Regions from separate parts of the Homo sapiens genome. Here region 2 is linked to region 1. Evidence: promoter capture Hi-C in 16 types of primary human blood cells and fetal thymus (Javierre and others, 2016). All regions are on one chromosome and are shown on one strand. The core of a region is centred on a gene start or on the middle of the fragment in contact, and the rest is flanking DNA. Distances in the headings are between cores, read along the strand shown. Region 1 holds the start of CDC25C (cell division cycle 25C). Region 2 holds the start of TXNDC15 (thioredoxin domain containing 15).

Region 1 (6,918 bases), core at 3,607-6,106:
GCTGGAGTGCACTGAGGCGATCACAGCTCACTGCAGCCTTGAACTTCTGGGCTCAAGCAATCCTTTCCATCTCAGCCTCCTGAATAGCTAGAACTACAGGGGTGTGCCACCATGCCCAGCATATTTATTTCTATTTTTGTAGAGAGAGGCGTCTTGCTATGTTGCCCAGGGTAGTCTCAAACTCCTGGCCTCAAACAATCTTCCCATCTTGGCCTCACAAAGTGCTGGGATTGGCGTGGTGTCTCACACCTGTAATCCTAGCACTTTGGGAGGCTGAGGCAGACGGATCACCTGAGGTCAGGAGTTCGAGACCAGCCTGGCAACAAAGTGAAACCCCGTCTCTACTAAAAAATACAAAAATTAGCTGGGCATTGTGGCGCCCATCTGTAATCCCAGCTACTCGGGAGGCTGAGGCAGGAGAATCGCTTGAACCGGGGAGGCAGAGATTGCAGTGAGCCGAGATTGTGCCACTGCACTCCAGCCTGGGCAACAGAATGAGACTCTGTCTCAAAAAAAAAAAAAAACAAATGAACAAAAAACGAAGTGCTGGGATTCCAGGTGTGAACCACCACACTTGACCTACATACTTTGATATATATTCTCATTTTTTCTTACAATCATCAAATGAAACAAAACCTTCTCTTTGACAAATGAAACAGCCCAAGAAGTTAAGTGACTGCCCACATGGTAGGCAAAGGTACTCTCAAAAAGCAGTCTAAAAGCCCTTGCTTTTCACCACTAAGCTGTTCACCTTTTTATTATTAATTAAATTAATAATTTAATTATTATGAATTAAATGGTTGAGTTAAAAGTAGGCATTGGCTCATTTGCAAAACATTGAAAGAAACTGAGACCCAAAACAAAACAAAAAAAACAAAACAAAAAAAAAAACCCTGCAAGTCAAGTTTCAGGCCTCATTTCAAAGGAAGGTTACATCCCCTTTCGTCATCTATAAAATGGCCTCCCAGTGCAGCCCAACACTCCTACCCATAATTAAATCTCCTTATTCCACTTTTAGTTCCCAAGGATTTTTTACTCATGTCCTGCTCTTTCCCTGCTGCCCCCTTTTTAGTCTTTTGTTCTTGAGCCACTGCTTTGAACTGCATCTTAATTATGCCCTCATGGGCCAAACCCCATCTGTGACCCTGCTCCAGTGGGTTTCAGCAAAGGATACTCTCCATCCATATTCTGAGGGCTCCAGGGCCTGGAGCCAGTCATCCAGGAGGTCATCCAAAGGAGTGGAATCCATTGGTTCTAAGACTCTTCATTCCCTGCCTAGGAAGGAACAGCCGAGTTGGAGGAACATGCACTCGATTCAGACCTTCCCTTTTCACCCAGTGAAAGCTAAACCTCTGCAAAGTGGGGAGAAGTAGGGCTAAGCCTACCAGTCATAAAAAGAACCAGGAATAGAAAACACACCCCTCAGCCCCTCTGCCCTGCAGAGGCTGGCTGGGAGGATCCCAGGAATGCAGGGCTCTTCTCCACTGCCTGATCTGGGCATCCCAGGAGTGATGGCTGTACCTCCTGTTCTTGTTTGGTGTTTCAGGGTGAAGCCCGGGCTGTCACTGTGCCCTGGCAACAACATGTATGAGTCAGACTGAGGTCAAGGTGAAGGAACACAGCTCACTGCTTATCACAGTGAATCAGGAGCCTAGATAGGGATTCCCCAAGGATGACATAGGATCAATGCCCTCAATCCAACAGAAAAAGTAAATCTTCAAATCAGATTAAACACCAAACTTCCCACCTCCCTAATATTCTTTCTTCTGGGAAGGATAACTTAGATATATTCCAACACCCTCATAAATCAAGATATAAAAGACAATATTTGACTTCCCTTTAAAATAATTCTACCATTTCACAGTTTGTATGTATGCATGTAAACTTACATGTAATTAGCTAAGTATGTTGCAATTAGCTAAGCCAGCTGGAATCATGAGGAGATAGTGAAAATGTTTGCTAGGAAAACAACCTCATTAACAAACGTAGAGCTTTTAAGAGTTTTGTTGGCTGGGCATGGTGGCTCACACCTGTAATCCCAGCACTTTGGGAGGCCGAGGTGGGTGGATTACCTCAGGTCAGGAGTTTGAGACCAGCCTGGCCAACACAGCGAAACCCTGTCTCAACTAAAAATACAAAAATTAGCCAGGTGTGGTGGCGCATGCCTGTAATCCCAGCTACTCAGGAGGCTGAGGCAAGAGAATCACTTGAACAGAGGTTGCAGTGAGCTGAGATTGCGCCATTGCACTCCAGCCTAGGCAACAAGAAAGAAACTGTCTCAAAAAAAAAAAGTTTTTTTGTTGTTGTTTTTAGGAGACAGTCTCACTATGTTGCCCAGGCTGGCCTCAAACTCCTGGGCTCAAGTGATCCTCCCAAGTAGCTGGGACTACAGGCGCACCACTGCATCTGTAAAAAGTCTTAAGGGCGGCCGGGCGCAGTGGCTCATGCCTGTAATCCCAGCACTTTGGGAGGCCGAGGTGGGTGGATCATTTGAGGTCAGGAGTTCCAGAACAGCCTGGACAATATGGTGAAACCCCACCTCTATTAAAAATACAAAAATCAGCCAGGCGTGGTGGCGGGCACCTGTAGTCCCAGCTACTCGGGAGGCTGAGGCAGGAGAATAACTTGAACCCAGGAGGCAGAGGTTGCAGTGGGCCAAGATTGCGCCACTGTACTCTAGCCCGGGAGAGAGCGAGACTCCATCTTAAAAAAAAAAAAAATACTCTTAAGAGCTAGGTGTATAAGTTCCATTTGAGAAATCTCAGAAACTTATTTTTGGGGCTAGATTTTTGGAGAATTTGTTTTAGGAATGCTGCAACTTTGTCAGAGTGCTCAGATTTTAGTATATTTCCATCACCTGACATTGAACTAAAGCCACTTGGCTGACACCTTTGTTGTGACCACCCACAACTGCACTTACTTGAGGACCTGGTGCAGAAAGCACTGGTAGCCAGGTGTGCACTTGCCATAATCTATCTGCTTTTGCCACCAATAGAGAATAACTTTGTCTCTACTTCCCACCTGCAGGGAAGTATACAATTTCCCACAAAGTGTGATTATACTGTAGTCGTCAAAGCAGATAACAACTCATCCCACACTCCCTTAATCCCCAGCCTGATTTTCAAACTCACCTGGCATAGCAAGGTTCTGTGCTAACTCCTACACTCACTGTCTGTATCCTAGAGGACAAAGAATCTTCACACATCTCCTTTCTGGGGAAGCAGGTTCTGCAGATGAAAAGGGTATTAGGATAAAAACCAGCTGGCTACACTGTGCCTCTCAGCCACTACCACCACCAAGATCCTGACAACAGACACAAGTTGCATTTTGACTTTTGTTTCTCAAAGCATGATCTGCAAGCCGTCTGCATGGGTAGCACCTGGGGGCCTTGATAATGACCCCACTTTAGACCTATCGAATTATCGTTTTTGGAGCCTACATCTTAAAGAGCTTCCAAGGTTATTTTGAACATTTTTATTATGGAAATTTTCAAATATACATTGAAGTAAGAAGTATGGGGTAATACCTTACCACGCAAAGTATGGTCGTAGGACCAGCTACCTCACCATCAGCTGGGGGCTTGTTAGAAGGGCAGAATCTTGGGCCGCAACCGCAACCCAGACATCCCGAATCAGAATCTGCATTTAGCAGGTCCTCAGGTGGTTAGTGTGCAAATTAAACCTTGAGAAGCACAGATATGATGGACCCTCCTGCCCCCATCACTCAACAGTCAGGGTCAATCTTGTATCATCAATACCTTCCCCCAGCACAGGATTATTTAAAAGCAAATCCCTAACATTAGGAATGTCTTTTTGTTTGTTTCACTCTAATGCCCAGGCTGGAGTGCAGTGGCGCAACCTCTGTCTCCCGAGTTCAAGCAGTTCTCATGCCTCAGCCTCCCAAGTAGCTGGGATTACAGGTGTGTGCCACCACAACCGGCTAAATTTTGTATTTTTAGTAGAGACGGGGTTTCATCATGTTGGCCAGGCTGGTTTTGAACCCCTGACCTCATGTAATCTGCCCGCCTCGGCCTCCCAAAGTGCTGGGATTACAGGTGTGGGCCAACGCGTCCGGCCAATAATTTATAAATATCACCTCGTCAATGTTCAAATTTTCATTAATAACCAATCTTTGAGGTCCTCTGGATTGCGATAAGGATTATACCAAGATGATTTAATTCCTCCACTTTCCCTGCAACGGAATTTCTTTTTACCCACGTGAGCTAGAGTCTCTGAGATGCTGCACACTAAAAGAAACACCAAACAAAGCTCTTGGAAGGGGCTAATGCCTCTCAGCATAAACACACACACCCGTCTCGCCCCAACACTTGCCACGCCGGCAGCAAACGCTCCATCTCCCGTGGAAGGCCAGCAAAACTTAGAAGAAAACGTCCGCGAAAACGGCACGAGAAAGAAGCGAAGAAAATGAAACGCTTACAACACCCTCCACCCAAAATAATCTCTCCTAGTATTACCCTAGTGAATGGACATCACTAGTAAGGCGCGGTTTAAATCTCCCGGGGTTCGTGGGGCTGAGGGAACGAGGAAAACAGAAAGGGTGTGGAGATTGGTGAGAGGGAGAGCCAATGATGCGCCAGGCTCCCCGTGAGGCGGAGCTTACCCCGCAGCCTGCCTAACGCTGGTGGGCCAAACACTATCCTGCTCTGGCTATGGGGCGGGGCAAGTCTTACCATTTCCAGAGCAAGCACACGCCCCCAGGTGATCTGCGAGCCCAACGATAGGCCATGAGGCCCTGGGCGCGCGCGCGGAGATTGGCTGACGCAGCTTAGAGGCGAGCGGGGATAGGTTACTGGGCTGGCGGAAGGTTTGAATGGTCAACGCCTGCGGCTGTTGATATTCTTGCTCAGAGGCCGTAACTTTGGCCTTCTGCTCAGGGAAGACTCTGAGTCCGACGTTGGCCTACCCAGTCGGAAGGCAGAGCTGCAATCTAGTTAACTACCTCCTTTCCCCTAGATTTCCTTTCATTCTGCTCAAGTCTTCGCCTGTGTCCGATCCCTATCTACTTTCTCTCCTCTTGTAGGCAAGCCTCAGACTCCAGGCTTGAGGTAAGTCCGCAGCCGTCTCCGCCACGGAATCACGGAGACCCCATTGTCCCCCTTAGGGTCCAGTCGGGCCCCCACAGACAGAGGTTGGGAGGGCCGAATGGGGACTATCGCGAGTTACGAGACCCGGGTTCTTTCTAGTCAGGAGTCTCGAGCTGTGTGGCGTGGAACAAGTCAAAATCCTCTCTTCATTCCATCTTTAAGGTCCTAAGGTTGCCTCTCGTCGGTGAATTCAGGTTCTAACCTTAAGCCAGGCTGTGAATCACCCTTCGGGGTTGCCCCTCTTCCAGTGTTGATTCGCCTGGCTGGAAAGGGTGGAGGAGTTTAGGAAAGCTGAGGGAACTGTGATGTACCGATTTAGATGACGTTTTCCTCCTAGCTAGGTTTTGTTTTTCTCCTGGTGAGAATTCGAAGACCATGTCTACGGAACTCTTCTCATCCACAAGAGAGGAAGGAAGCTCTGGCTCAGGACCCAGTTTTAGGTCTAATCAAAGGAAAATGTTAAACCTGCTCCTGGAGAGAGACACTTCCTTTACCGTCTGTCCAGATGTCCCTAGAACTCCAGTGGGCAAATTTCTTGGTGATTCTGCAAACCTAAGCATTTTGTCTGGGTAAATATACTTTTATTTTTACACTGTATTGCCTTTGCTATTTCCAAACAGTTGGGTTTGTTTGTTGGTTTGTTTTCAATTATCCCGGCTCAAAGGTCAGGCTTTAAGTCTCAACTCTGCCCTTGACTGTGTAACCCTTTTGAGTCTCACCTTCTTTTCTGTGACAAGAAATAATCTCAGCCAGGCGAGGTGGCTCATGCCTGTAATCTCCGCACTTTGGGAGGCCAAGGAGGGCGGATCGCCTGAGTCTAGGAGTTCAAGACCAGCCTGGGCAACATGGCAAGACGCCGTCTCTACAAAAAATATTAAAAGTTAGCTGAGTGTGGTGGTGTGCACCTATAGTCCCAGCAACTCGGGAGGCTGAGGTGGGAGGATTGCTTGAGCCCGGGAGGTGGAGGCTGCAGTTAGCCAAGATCGCCTCACTGCACTTCAGCCTGGGAAACAGAGTGAGACTCTATCTCAAAAAGAAAAGAAAAGACAAAGAAATAATAATCGCTTCCTATCTTACTAGGATCTTGTGAGAATCAAATGATGTGATAACTGGGAAAAGTCTTTGAAAACCGCTGCATTACGAGTCGGTCACTTTATTAGTATTAATATTAGTGTTATTGCAGTTGTACTTTGAATTCTGATCATACCATGTCTCAACTAGCAAAGAGAAGTAGTACCTGAGAAAAACTAGGGACCCCAGGGAGAAATCAAGCCTGTGTTCATAGTGCTCAGGACCGGGAATGTGGAGTCAAGATCCCCCTCGGCCAATAAACTCTGGGCCTCATTTAAAAAAAAAAAAATTATCTGTTTCAGTATGTTGGTAAGGAGAAAATAAAGTACAGATTATGGTAGTGGGAGATTTTTCTCAGCCCAGTCTGATATATTTCCCAAAAGCAATTAGATTTATTTGGACACTGTTCAGATGATCTGATAGTCATTAAGGGGTGTTTCAAATGAACAGGCTTGGCCAGGCGTTGTGGCTCACACCTGTAATCCCAGCACTTTGGAAGGCCGAGGTGGGTGGATCACCTGAGGTTAGGAGTTTAAGACCAGCCTGGCTGACATGGTGAAGCCCCATCTCTACTACAAATACAAAAATTAGCTGGGCGTGGTGGCAGGCGCCTGTGATCCCAGCTATTTGGGAGGCTGAGGCAGGAGAATCGCTTGAACCCGGGAGGCGGAGGTTGCAGTGAGCCAAGATCGTGCCACTGCACTTGAGCTGGGGGGACAGAGCAAGACTCCACTGCAAAAAAA
Region 2 (6,961 bases), core at 4,354-6,853, 3.5 Mb after region 1:
AAATACAAAAATTAGCCAGATGTGGCGGCATGCACCGGTAATCCCAGCTACTTGGGAGGCTGAGGCAGGAGAATCACTTGAACCTGGGAGGCAGAGGCTGCAGTGAGCCGAGAATCACGCCACTGCACTCCAGCCTGGGTGACAGAGCAAGGCTCTGTATCCAAAAAAAAAAAAAAAAAGGCAGGTAAGAAGGGAGAGGTGGCAATGGAGGTTACATAGGACAGAGTTTAAGGCTTGGGCAGCAAAGTGAGTCTTTAGCAGAAGGTCAAGCACTTCTGTGACTACAATCCAGAGAAGCGGCTGGGTGCCTGGGAAGGGAGCTTTGCCAAATTGGTGGAGGGGCGGGATCACATTGGCGGTATTTCTATAGCCTTTTATTTCTATAGCCTTTGGTTAATGAGTGTGTATTGCCTGTATGATCAGAAGAAAAAACAAACACACATGTTTTCTGTGTCAGCCACAAGACAAAGCAGGAAATGAAGCCAGAGAGGCTAAGAGTCTGGAAAAGAAAGGATGCCAGGTTTGGGGTCCAACCCAACTCCCAAACACCACAGTTCTTCAGAGATTTGCTCTTGCTACCTAATCAACATTCTAGATTCCACAAGTAAATGAAGAATGCCAAAACGAAGAACCTCAGGATAAAAAAATCAGGGCACAAATTTTAATCTGGTTCTCTCTGATGACCCTCAGATAGCCCCTGCACAAAATCAAAAGGGAATGTAAGTGGTGCATGGAGCTGGTATTTTAAGTTCAAGAGTGTTGTCCCCTCCATCCCCCTGCACATTGTAAAAATATTTAAGTACACAGTACAGATTAGGAACAAAAAAATCTTATGCCTTCAGGTACCAACGTTTTCATTTAGGAATTAGGAAGAAAAGAAACACTGAATTATTCCACACGAAAATAAAAATGTCATACTATGTGACAGTCATTGAACCCTCCCTTGGTAATGTGCTTTTATTTTTTATTTTCTTTGAGACAGAGTCTTGCTCTGTTGTCCGGGCTGGAGTGCAGTGGCACGATCTCAGCTCACTGCAGCCTCCATCTCCTGGGTTCAAGCAATTCTCCTGCCTTAGCCTCCCAAATAGCTGGGATTACAGATGCGCACCACCACACCTGGCTACTTTTTTTATTTTTAGTAGAGATGGGGTTTCACCATGTTGGCCAGGCTGGTCTCAAACTTCTGGCCTCAAATGATCCAGCCACCTCGGCCTCCCAGTGTGCTGGGATTACAGGCGTGAGCCACTGCACCCGACTGGTAATGTGCCTTTTAAGAGACTGCAGTTTGAGCTATACATAAAGTGATAATTATTGCATCACTGGCAGCAAAGAAGTTGTCTGAAGGACAAGTGTGAGGGCACCATGCCAATTCTGCCAGGGAGCCCTAGCCTAGGTCAGCACCTTCACACCCTTCCAGCTTTTCTCAGAAGGCTCTTTACCAGCTGCAGGTGTTTTCACAATGGCTTCTGGCAGGAAAGGCAAATGAGGAGGGACCAAAAACAGTCAAGGGTTGGAGGGACAGCAATCCATACTTTCCATAGGCAATACTGTGTGCTCATTTAGCAAATGGAGACAATACCACCAAAATGTAGAAAATTATGAGGCTACTGTGAAGATTAAATGAGAAAAGATGTGTATGGTCCCTGCCACAGGTTAAACACTCCATAAATGGCTGTGGTGATGATGATGATTATGATGAGTGGTGTTTACAATTCAAAGAGATGGAAAGGCACAATAACTAAGTTCTATTAATTAACCTGCACACTGGGCTTGCTGGTTCATACCTGTAATCCTAACACTTTGGGAGGCCAAGGCAGGCAGATTACTTGAGGTCAGGAATTCAAGACCAGCCTGGCCAACATGGTGAAACCCCATCTCTACTAAAAAATACAAAAATTAGGCCAGGCGCAGTGGCTCACGCCTGTAATCCCAGCACTTTGGGAGGTCAAGGCGGGCAGATCACCTGAGGTCAGGAGTTCGAGACCAGCCTGGCCAACATGGCGAAACCCCATCTCTACTAAAAATACCAAAAATTAGCCGGGGTGTAGTGACGGGTGCCTGTAATCCCAGCTACTCAGGAAGCTGAGACAAGAGAATCGCTTGAACCCGGGAGGCAGAGGTTGCAATGAGCCAAGATCGCACCATTGCTCCAGCCTGAGCAACAAGAGCAAAACTCCATCTCAAAAAAAAAAAAAAAAATTAGCCAGGCATGGTGGCGCATGCCTGTAATCCCAGCTACTCGGGAGGCTGAGGCAGGAGAATCATTTGAACCCAGGAGGTGGAGGTTGCAGTGAGCCAAGATGGTGCCACTGCACTCCAGCCTGGGTGACAAGAGCAAGACTCCTTCTCAAAAAGAAAAAAAAAAATTTCACCTGCTAAACACATTCACAATCCATCTACTTTCCCCATCCCAACTAACACTTCTCAGCAAAGGCCACAGCCAATTCTTGTCTGGGCAACTACTGTAGCCACCTAAACTGGTCTCCCTGGTCAGCCTGCTATCCCCCCTCCAGACCCTGACCTTCACAGCAATACAAGTGAAACTGAAAGATAAAAGGCATATCTGATCATGTCACTCCCCTGCTAAAACTCTTTCAGTGGCTTCCCCTACCCTGTGAATGCATCTGCATTCTGTAGCAGAGCTACCAGGCCCCAATGTGGCCTCTGTCTGCACTCTCACCTGTGGCCATCAGATCCCTCTAGTCCCTGATCATTTACACTCCTCCTATCCCCACCTGCCTTAGAGCCTTCCTGAGGGCTGTTTCTCTGCTGGGAAGCTTCCTCCTGCCAAATCCTTCATCCTCCTCATTCAGATCTCACCCTAAATGTCACCTCTGTAAGGACACATTCCCTGACCCTCAGACCAGGGTGGGAGGTCTCCCATTACAGTTCCCAAAAACGCCCTGGGACTCTCCTTGATGCATTTCTCAGTCTTGCAATTTTCTTAGTAATTTGTAGTTATTTAGTGGCTGCCTTCCCCAAAGGCCTGCTGCTCTAACTCACCACTGGATCCCCAGTGCTCAGCACAGTGTTTAGCATATGATGAGTGCTCAGTAAGAATTTGCTAGCTGACTGCCTAGGGAAGAGTGGCATAGGGGTATTGAAGCCAGGAGTTTGCTTCCATTCCTAGACACCTGGATAGCATTGCTACCTCCAGGTTGCTTAGTCTCTCAGGGCCTCAGCACCTGAGGCCAGCATAATCTGCCAGTGGCATCCTCTGCAGAAAAAAAAAAAAAAAAAACACCTCAGATTTTCAGCTACTCTGAGAAGAAATCAGCTGGTGAAGTTTCTTCTGTCTTCACCCCATTCATGGCCTGGCCATGATGACCAAAGACCCAAGCTGAACCCTGAATCAGCCAGGGTTCTGCCAGGAAACAGCACATTTAACTTGGGCAAGTTGAGGAGAGTTTAATGAAGGGACCACTAATGTGTAGGCTGGGTGCAGAGAAATGAAAAGCAATGGTAAGGAATTCCAAGGCCAGTAACAGTAGAGGAGGAGCCAGTTACCACTCATAGACCTTAAGAGTCTGGAGAGAGAAGTAGTCACAGAACCTTGAAACATCAAGGGTAACACAGAGGGCAGCTTTCTAGAATTCAATGCTTTCCACCGGGGGCAAAGCCAGCCTTCAATAACTTCTCAGGGAGGGAGCGGAGAGAATCAATACCCTGACCTCACTCTCCCCTCATTCCAACACAATGGAAGCAAGACGGTAGGACAGCTGGTATTTATTCCACACAGGACAGCCACACAGGGCACAGAGCACGGTGGAGGGGCTGAAACAGAAGATATCCAACCCATGCCATCCCCTCTGTGAGGCTAGCAGTTAAGTATAGTGAAAATGCAGAGGTTGGGCTCTGAAGTCAGGCAGACATGGGCTTGAATCAAGGCTCCTCAACTTCTGGCTGTATGACCTTGTCAAAGGACTTATTGGCTCTGAGTCTTAAGTTACTTCTATAAAATGAGCATGATAACATCTACTGCATATGCATTTAAAAATTACTAAGGCCAGGCACGGTGGCTCAAGCCTGTAATCCCAGCACTCTGGGAGGCCGAGGTGGGTGGATCACCTGAGGTCAGGAGTTCCAGACCAGCGTGGCCAACATGGTGGACCATCATCTCTACTAAAAATACAAAAATTAGCCCAGTGTGGTGGCAGGCACCTGTAATCCCAGCTACTCAGGAGGCTGAGGCACGAGAATCGCTTGAACCCGGGAGTCAGAGGTTGCAGTGAGCCAAGATCGCGCCACTGCACTCCAGCCTGGGCAACAGAGCGAGACTCCATCTCAAAAAAAAATAAAAATAAAAATTACATAAACCGGGAGCAGTGGCTCACATCTGTAATCCCAGCACTTTGGGAAACAGGTGGGAGGATCACTTAAGCCCAGGAGTTCAAGGCTGCAGGGAGCCATGATGGGCCACTGCACTCCCGCCTGGGCAACAGAGCAAGCCCTCATCCCTTAAAAAAACAAAAACAAAACAGTAAAGATTCCAAAAGATGATGCTCGTAAAGCACTGAGCACAGCATCTGGTACACAGTGAGCGCTTTCATTCATGGTAATTGTGTTACTATGACTCACCCTTCTCCACAACTCTCTGCTGTCCTGCCTCCATCCAGGACACCCCAGGGAAAAGAAAGACCTGCCTATTCCTGTTAAGGTCTAAATGACAAGCGAGACCGAGGGTCTGGACTTTAACAGGACTATGAGGAGTGGGGTGAAGGAGCATGAAAGTAAGGCCTCCACTCTCCACCCTCGCCATGCCTCTAGAGTGGCTGCCTTCCCTACCGGCAAGTTGGGGGTTACCGGGAGTCTCCCGTGTTTCTCGTCTGTTTTTCATGCAGGGAGCTGAGCAAGACTGGCCTCCTTAAGACAGTGGTCCAGCAGCGTGGACTCCAGACTGGGCTTTGGCGTCAGAGAGACAGGCTTCTGCCACGTATCAGAAGCGCAAACTTAGGCGGGGCCTGAGCATCTTCATCTGTGAAATGGAGACACTAAACGGAACCGATCTGACAGGGTTTGTGGGAGCATTAAATGGGATAATGATGTAAATAAAGCACGATGCACAGTTCCTGGCTCCTAATACGGCCACAACAATGTCGGTATTTGATATAATGTTATTAATAATAAATTGCTTATCACCAGAGGGTATGCCTCAGCAGCGCTTACCGCACTGTCCCTCCTGGCTACCAGCCACGGGCTGAGGGCGGCCTGAACGCGGCCCAACCACCCCCGGGCTCCCGTCCACCGGCCCTCAGCCCACCGGCCCCCTTTCGCGGGCCACCAGCGGGCGGTGCGCGGGGAGAGAAGTCGGGGAGACGCGCCCGGGGAGACGCCAAGAAGGGGCGAGTCGCGCACCGCCGGCCTTCGCGCAGGTCCAGAGCGTCGCCCGGGTGGACCTCAGCTCGCCCCATCATCTCATGCACCGCCCCCGGCCCACACTCACCCTCCACGCCGCGGACGGGAAGTCCCAGCACCCACAGCAATACTTGCCACCAGCCGAGGAGCCGCATGACGCGGGGCGGTCGTCGACCGGCAGCCGGGACCATTGCCCAGGCCGAGAGGCAATCGGCGCACGGCTACGCGAGTCGTGCTGCCAGCCGGAGGAAGGCTGGGGGAGGAGAGCCTGGGAGCGCGGGCGCGGCCCCGCGCCGCCATCTTAACACCTGGCAGCTGTGGCGGGCGCCATCTTGGAGTCGGGCGGACGGCCTCTAGCCGCTGGCCGTCGGCGCTGGACTGGAGACCTCTTTAGGAGCTAAGCGCCAGACGTTGCAGGTCGTTTTGAACTCTGCTGACCCCAGAGTGCAGAGCATGGCTCTGGCAGAGGCCCATGGCCTCCTTTCTTCCCTCGGAAGTCAGAGCTTGGCTACTTGAAGCACTGCGCCCGCCTAAGGAGGGTTTTCCACGCTTCATTCCCAGAGCCAGAAAGGCCCAGGAGCCTTCCTGTTCTAGTGTCCCATCGAGGTGCAGAAACTTTGGAGGCTGCAAATCTTCTAATCGCTTGCCTAACCTGTGCTCCCCTACCTAGGGTTGCCACATAGAATACCTGATACCCAGTTATATTTGAATTTCACATAATGAATATTTTTTACTATAACCCTTATAGTATAAGGGATATACCTTAAAACTGAGCATCCTGTAACTTCGTGACATCTGGCAACCCTAACCCTACCTATCCACTCAGGGCAGGAGAGGTTGGTTTTAACTGATTTACCTTGCAGGGCAATCTCTTTTTAATCATGGTTGGGGCCGTGAGCATCATTGGCTCTGGCTCATGGTGGAGGTGGAGCCACCTCGAGCATAAAGTAGATAGGAAAGGGCTTAGAATGAAGAAAGCATAGATGGGGAGATGAGGAACAGGGCTCTGCATTCCCAAGCAAACGCACAGAGCGGGAGTCTTAAGAGAAAATTCTTGGAATAGAGAGGATGACACCACTAATTGGGGTATTTTGCCGGGGGGCCTGCTAAAATGGAATAAGGCAAGCTTTAAGCAGCCACCAGTCAGTGCTAAATCAGTGCAGAGTGCAGCTTTTCAAACTTATGAGGTTGAAAAAATAGAAACTGATTTAAAATACATCAGTCTATTGGTTAACATAGCAATGGTAAGGGGAACCTGTGCTTTTTGGCCGCTTGGTGAATCCCAACTTCAGCACATGTGATAGTTCACAGTCAGCAGGTTATGTAACTTAAAGTTAAGTTTCTTCAGCTGTAAAGTGGAAATGACGTTATATAGAGTCTTATAGATGAAATGAGATGTAAAGTGATGAGCACAGTGTCCTGGGGCACAGGAAGCATTTCAAAGTGGTAGGCATTATTAATTGAATAATACAATTCTGATGGTGTGGCCATAGTCCCCTTATCTCTATGCCCATCAAAAAGACACTGTTAGGCCAGAAAGATGCATCATTAATCTGTCCCTGTGGATGATTCTTTTATTCTAAATACGTTGGTATGGTTTTGCTGT

The links. Contacts are between HindIII fragments. The CHiCAGO score rates a contact against its expected background, and 5 or more counts as called.
Region 2: the fragment with the promoter of TXNDC15 here is called in contact with the fragment with the promoter of CDC25C in region 1 in 1 of 17 cell types (erythroblasts); the score reaches 5.7 in erythroblasts.

What each region holds. Positions count from the first base shown.
Region 1 is chr5:138,329,742-138,336,659 of GRCh38, reverse strand. CDC25C (cell division cycle 25C) reads left to right here and starts at 4,856. Exons shown (of 14, transcript NM_001790.5): 1 at 4,856-5,065; 2 at 5,442-5,673. The coding sequence starts at 5,480. LOC100128966 (a long non-coding RNA gene) reads right to left here and starts at 4,555. Exons shown (of 4, transcript NR_146628.1): 1 at 4,475-4,555; 2 at 3,132-3,227; 3 at 1,175-1,275. RefSeq lists a silencer at 4,534-4,793 and enhancers at 4,844-4,893, 4,904-5,033, 4,745-5,698. The HindIII fragment of the contact is 22,786 bases long and covers 1-6,918 here.
Region 2 is chr5:134,873,013-134,879,973 of GRCh38, reverse strand. TXNDC15 (thioredoxin domain containing 15) reads right to left here and starts at 5,603. Exons shown (of 5, transcript NM_024715.4): 1 at 5,444-5,603. The coding sequence starts at 5,546. It overlaps LOC124901071 (a long non-coding RNA gene), which reads left to right and starts at 4,576. Exons shown (of 2, transcript XR_007058943.1): 1 at 4,576-4,730; 2 at 4,842-5,143. RefSeq lists enhancers at 2,498-2,557, 4,968-5,037, 4,931-5,636, 5,568-5,857, 5,878-5,927 and a silencer at 5,218-5,327. The HindIII fragment of the contact is 3,704 bases long and covers 2,780-6,483 here.